2 separate regions of the Homo sapiens genome follow, and region 1 is linked to region 2. Evidence: promoter capture Hi-C in 16 types of primary human blood cells and fetal thymus (Javierre and others, 2016). All regions are on one chromosome and are shown on one strand. The core of a region is centred on a gene start or on the middle of the fragment in contact, and the rest is flanking DNA. Distances in the headings are between cores, read along the strand shown. Region 1 has its middle 28 kb from the start of MFSD2A. Region 2 holds the start of ZNF684 (zinc finger protein 684).

Region 1 (3,088 bases), core at 521-3,020, 550 kb after region 2:
TAGCTGGGACCATAGGAATGCACCACCATGCCTGGCTAATTTTTGTATTTTTGTGGAGACAGAGTTTCACCATGTTGCCCAAGCTGGTCTCAGACTCCCGAGTTCAAGCAGTCCTCTTGCCTTGGCCTCCCAAAGTGCTGGAATTACAGTCATCAGCCACTGCGCCCATCGGCCTAGGAAGTTTTAAAATAATCAAAATACTAGCTTGAACTTTAAGATCAATGCAAATGTTTTCAAAATTAAAAATGTAGAGGTTTCATATAATTAATATGTGAATTTAGCAAGACTACTGGATATGAGATCAACATACAAATGTATTTCTTTATAATAGCAACAAAAAAATTAGAAAATGAAATTTACAAAAAATATCATTTACATCAGTATCAAAAATATCAAATACTTAGGAATAAATCTATTGAAAGATGTTTGAGATTTTAACCTGTGGCCAGGAGTGGTGGCTCATGCCTATAATCCCAGCACTTTGGGAGTCTGAGGTGGGAGAATTGCTTGAGCCCAGGAGTTGGAGACCAGCCTGGGCAACATAGCAAGACCCCACCTCTACAAAAAATGTAAAAAGAATCATAATAAATGTTCAAAGAAAAAAAAAAAGACCTCAACCTGAAACATTCTCTCTCTCTCTTTTTTTTTTTTTTTTGAGACAGAGTCTCATTCTGTTTTCAGGCTGGAGTGCAGTGGCGCGATCTCAGCTCACTGCAACCTCCGCCCTCCGAGTTCAAGCGATTCTCCTGCCTCAGCCTCCCGAGTAGCTGGGATTACAGGCGCCTGCCACTGCACCCGGCTAATTTTTTGTATTTTTAGTAGATATGGGGTTTCACCTTCTTGGCCAGGCTGGTCTCGAACTCCTGACCTTGTGATCCACCCGCCTTGGCCTCCCAAAGTGCTGGGATTACAGGTGTGAGCCACCGCGTCCGGCCCTCTCTCTTTTTTAAGAGACAGTGTCTCACTATTTTGGCCAGGCTGGTCTCAAACTCCCTGGCTCAGGTGATCTTCCTGCCTCAGCCTCCCAAGTAGCTGGGACTACGGGCATGCACCACCATGCCTGTTTCTATAAGACATTCTTGACATAAATTAAACACGACCTAAATAAATGGACAGATATTTCATGTTCATAAATTAGAAGACTCAATATTGTTAAGATGCCAGTTTTTTCCAATTAGTTCATAGATTCAGTGTAATTCCATCAAACTCCCAGCACATTCTGTGTGTGTATGTGTGTGTGTGTGTGTGTGCACACGCATACATTGACAAGCTGATTCCAAAATACATATGGACAATCCAAAAACCTTGAAGTTTGGCCAGGCATGGTGACTCATACCTGTAATCCCAGCACTTTGGGAGGCCAAGGCAGGCAGATCACCTGAGGTCAGGAGTTCAAGACCAACCTAGCCAATATGCTGAAACCCCCTATCTACTTAAAGTACAAAAAAATTAGCTGGGCATGATGGCGGGCATCTGTAGTCCCAACTACTTGGGAGGCTGAGGCAGGAGAATCGCTTGAACTTGGGAGGTGGAGGTTGCAATAAGCCAAGATCGCGCCATTGCACTTCAGCCTGGGAGAGAGTGAAACTCCATCTCAAAAACAAAACAAAACAAAACCTTGAAGTTGAAAGACTTACACTACCAAATTTCAACATTTACTATATAAATCTATAGTAATTAAGACAGGGGACTCTTGGAGTAAGAATAGCTGAGTAGATCACTTGAACAGGATAAAGAGTCCAGGGCCAGCCACGGTGGCTCATGCCTGTAATCCCAGCACTTTGGGACGCCGAGGCAGGTGGATCACCTGAAGTCAGGAGTTTGAGACCAGCCTGACCAATATGGTGAAACTCCGCCTCTACTAAAAATACAAAAATTAGCCGGGTGTGGTGGCGTGTGCCTGTAATCCCGGCTACTGGGGAGGCTGAGGCAGGAGAATTGCTTGAACCCGGGAGATGGAGGTTGCATTGAGCCGAGATCGCACCATTGCACTACAGCTTAGGCGACAGAGCAAGACTCTGTCTCAAAAAAAAAAAAAAAAAAAAAATAGAGTCCAAAAATGGACCTACACATATAGGTTCTTTTGATTTATGCCACTGTAATCAAGTAGGGGAGGGACGTCCTTTTAATAAAAGGTGCTGGAATAATTGGATAAGTACAGAGAAAAATAAACTCTGACCCTTAACTCACACTATACACAAAAATTAATTTGAGTGGATCATAGACCTAAATAAAAAAAGTATAAAACAACAATAAAACAACTTCTAAATAAAAACATAAGATAATTTTTTTGATATTGGGGTAAGTAAAGATTTCTTTTTTTTTTTTTTTTTTTGAGACGGAGTCTCACTCTGTTGTCAGGCTGGAGTACAGTGGTGCGATCTCCGCTCACTGCAACCTCCGCCTCCCAGGTTCAAACAATTCTCCTGCCTCAGCCTCCCGAGTTGCTGGGATTACAGGCATGCACCACCATACCCGGCTAATTTTTGTATTTTTAGTAGAGACGGGGTTTTACCATGTTAGCCAGGCTGGTCTCGAACTCCTGACCTCAGGTGATCCAGCCGCCTTGGCCTCCCCAAAGTGCTGGGATTACAGACGTGAGCCACCGCGCCCAGCCTCCTGAATGTAAATTATATCTCAATAAAACATTGAAAAGTAAGGAGTTTTTTGTTTATTTTTAATTACAAAAGCAAAATAAATGCTTGGTCTTTATAGACTACTAAAACAAGTATAACTAGAAGAATGACAGGCCTTGATCTCATTTCTAGGGACAAGATCTGTCTTCAAATTTATGCAGGTCTTCCATGGGACAAAGAGAAGGGTTGTATTGTGCAGATGCCAAAGAGAGGATCTAGAATCTGTGGGGACAAGCCACAAGGAGATAGCTTTCAAGATGAAGGAAACCTTTTTTTATGCCCTTCTCCACAAATGAAACAGGCTGCCTTGAGCCAAAATGAGCTGGCTGCCAAAGGCATGAGCAAGCAGAAGGCAGCCACAGGCATCCACGCATCAGGTGGGGTTGGATTAGACAGCCTAGGTCTCGTCCTCTGCCTCTGCTACTCCTTTAAGGAACAGCAAGGAGTAGAAC
Region 2 (3,033 bases), core at 12-2,511:
GATCTAGCACCAAGTGGTTCCTCTTGAAACAGTTATTTTTTTTCCTCCCAGAAATTTATCCTGAAGAAATAATGAATGAGTTGACTCACTTAAAAGCTTGGTCTCTGAAGCTCCGTAAGTCTAAAAATGATTCCTTCCTGTGATTCTCTGGTTTCTACTCTGACGCTGGGATAAGAGATTGCAAATTAGGTTGGGCTTTCTTGAGAAGGCTGGATTCAGGGACCCAGGAACACTTTTTTTTATTTTTTTTTTGTTAAGCTGGATCCTTCAGTTTAAACTCCAAATGTTTCTCTCTGTAGAAACTCGCCATCTCCTATGAGCTTAGAACTGCTGGGGCTCTAGAAAGGGTATAATGGGCAAACCGGGGACTCACATCTTCATTTACACAGTCTGCACTGGAAGATCTGCAGATACACCAAGAGACTCTACAAAATGACTACAAATCGAAATTTACTCAGCATTCATTGCTCAAACATTTCAGGAGAATAAACCCAACTCTGTTTTATGCAGGAATGCTATACTGTAAAAAAAAAAAAAAAGAAATTTGGAGAAAATGTATCTGAGTTTGAATCTCAGTTCTTCCACTTACTAAGCTGTGTGAGTCCAGGCAAGTAATTTCACCTTTCAGCTTCAGTTAACTCATATGCAAAATGGTAATAGCATTTACTTCAAATGATTGCTGAGAATACCCTTCTAATCCATAGCAGTTTCTCAAGAATGCTTTCTTCCTGGATCCCTTGAAATAGCTTACAGTTTCCACTGGATCCCTTGACACGGCTTAAAATTGTCGCAGGCTCCAGTCGGGCCAACTATGCTCTTGGAACCAGGAAAGGTACAGTTAGATGAACAGACTCCTACATAGTGACCTTGACCTACAAGAGCAGGAATGCAAATTGAGCCTCTCCCAGTCCCACCAGAGCCCTGGACATCTACCCAGTGCCAGTCGGAGCCCAACTCTTGCTTTCTCTCAGCTACTCGAGTTGAACAGGACCCACATATCCAAACCTGAAGTCACTGCGCTTGGAGACTAAAGTTTTATCTTCGGTAGGGTAAACCTAGAAGCCAGTCCCCGCCTTTCTCTTACGTCCTCCGAGTCCAGCAAAGCCATACCTGCCACCCTTTCACTGCCTCGCTCGCAGCTCCGGCTCCAAGCCTGGGATCAGTCACAGCGTCGTCCAGAGACAGGGGAGCAACACCCGCCCGCACTTCCCGCGGCGCTGATTTGAAGATTGAATACCGGCTACCGTCCTACTACGCGTGTGCGGAAGTAACTGTCCACCTAGAGTTCCTGGACTCCTCCCGGGTGTAGGCCATCCGTCGGAGACCACATTTCCCATAAGGCCAGTGGAGCTCGTTTCCGGAAGACGTCAGACGCTGCTTCCTCTTGGGGGGTGGTGCGGAGATTCCCGGGTTGGTATCTCTATTGCTAGCCTGAGAGCCACGCTTTTTAAGTCGTTTTCATTTAAAAGGATACACAGCATTTTTAAATACTGGAAAGTAAAATCGGCGGTATGCTAAAAACAATTTGCTCTTACTCAGCAGGGTTTCTTCTAGCAATGCACCAGGTTAAGTCGGAGAGGTGAAGAGGATCCAACAAAGAAGACTGAGAAGGAATAATCCATGAAGTAGATGGAAAAGTAGGAGAGTTTAGATCTGCAAAACCAAGGGAAGGAAGTGTTTCAAGAAGGGAGTGACCCATTGTCTCAAATGTTGCTCATAGGTCAAGTAAAATGAGAATTAAGAATGGGCCACTGTAGCAATGGTCACCAGTGATGTTGAAACGCCATTTTGGCAGTGGTGGAAGTTTGATAAAGTCTGATGAAAATTTGATAGGAGTTGGAGGGAAGGATGGGAGGAGAGGAAATGGAGAAAGCAAATATACGCAATACTTTTAAGAAGTTTTGTTTTTAAGGTGAGCAGAAAAATAAGGCTATCATGGGATAGGGATTTTGTTAATCTTTTGTTGTTGCGTTTTTCCACGTTCTAATTTTTTTTTTTTTTTTAATTCAAAGATGGGGCTGAGTGTGGTGGCTTATGCCTGTAATCCTAACATTTCAGGAGGCCAAAGTGGGAGGATTGGTTGAGCCCAGGAGTCTGAAACTGCCTAGGCAACATAGTGAGACCCTCATCTCTACAAAAAATAAAAAACTAGCCTGGCATGGCACCCGCCTGAAGTCCCAACTACTTGAGAGGCTGAGATGGGAGGATCGCTTGAGCCCAGACAGTAGAGACTGCAGTGAGCCGTGATCCCGCCACTGCACTGCAGCATGGGCGACAGAGCTAGTCTCTGTCTCAAAAAAATAAAATAAAAAAGATGGAAGAAATTATAGTAAGTTTATGTACTAATTAAAAGGATCTAGGCTGGGCGCAGTGGCTCACGCCTGTAATCCCAGCACTTTGGGAAGCTTAGGTGGGCAGATCACCTGAGGTCAGGAGTTGGAGACCAGCCTGGCCAACGTGGTGAAACCCCGTCTCTACTAAAAATACAAAAATTAGCCGGGCGTGGTGGCAGACGCCTGTAAACCCAGCTACCTGGGAGGCTGAGGCGGGAGAATCACTTGAACCCGGGAGGCAGAGGTTGCAGTGAGCCGAGATCACACCACTGCACTCCAGCCTGGGCGACAGAGCGAGGCTCTGTCTCAAATAAATGAATTAGTTAATAAAATAAAACAAAAGATCCAGTAGAGGCGGGAAATACACAATTCAGGATAGACAGGCTAGTTACTCGGAGGAATGTCCTTGAGAAGAGAAGGGATGGAATCCAGTACACAATCACAGGGATCATTCTAAGTAAGAGTATGGATAATTCATCTCCATTGAAATAAAAGGGGAGGCAGAGTTTATAAGTACAGATCCAAACAGGTGGACAAATATGGTGGTAGGAGAAAGAGGATGCCCTGTTCTGAGTGCTTCTATTTTCCCAGTGAAATAGGAAGCTGAAATGAAGATAGGGGGAAAGTATTTTAGACTTGACAGAAAAGATGAATACCGTATTATGATGATTTTGAAACATGATTTTTTCATATTTTAACA

What was found. The method cuts DNA at HindIII sites, captures the fragments that hold promoters and counts their contacts. A CHiCAGO score of 5 or more calls a contact.
Region 1: a contact is called between a fragment that was not itself captured here and the fragment with the promoter of ZNF684 in region 2, in 1 of 17 cell types (neutrophils). The highest score is 5.4, in neutrophils.

What each region holds. Positions count from the first base shown.
Region 1 is chr1:39,982,093-39,985,180 of GRCh38, reverse strand. No RefSeq gene overlaps it. Among named protein-coding and RNA genes, the nearest start is that of MFSD2A, 28 kb to the right of the region's middle. The HindIII fragment of the contact is 9,070 bases long and covers 1-3,088 here.
Region 2 is chr1:40,529,865-40,532,897 of GRCh38, reverse strand. ZNF684 (zinc finger protein 684) reads right to left here and starts at 1,261. Exons shown (of 5, transcript NM_152373.4): 1 at 1,111-1,261. It overlaps LOC124904149 (a long non-coding RNA gene), which reads left to right and starts at 1,352. Exons shown (of 2, transcript XR_007066022.1): 1 at 1,352-1,410; 2 at 1,543-2,320. RefSeq lists an enhancer at 1,167-1,461. The HindIII fragment of the contact is 2,309 bases long and covers 99-2,407 here.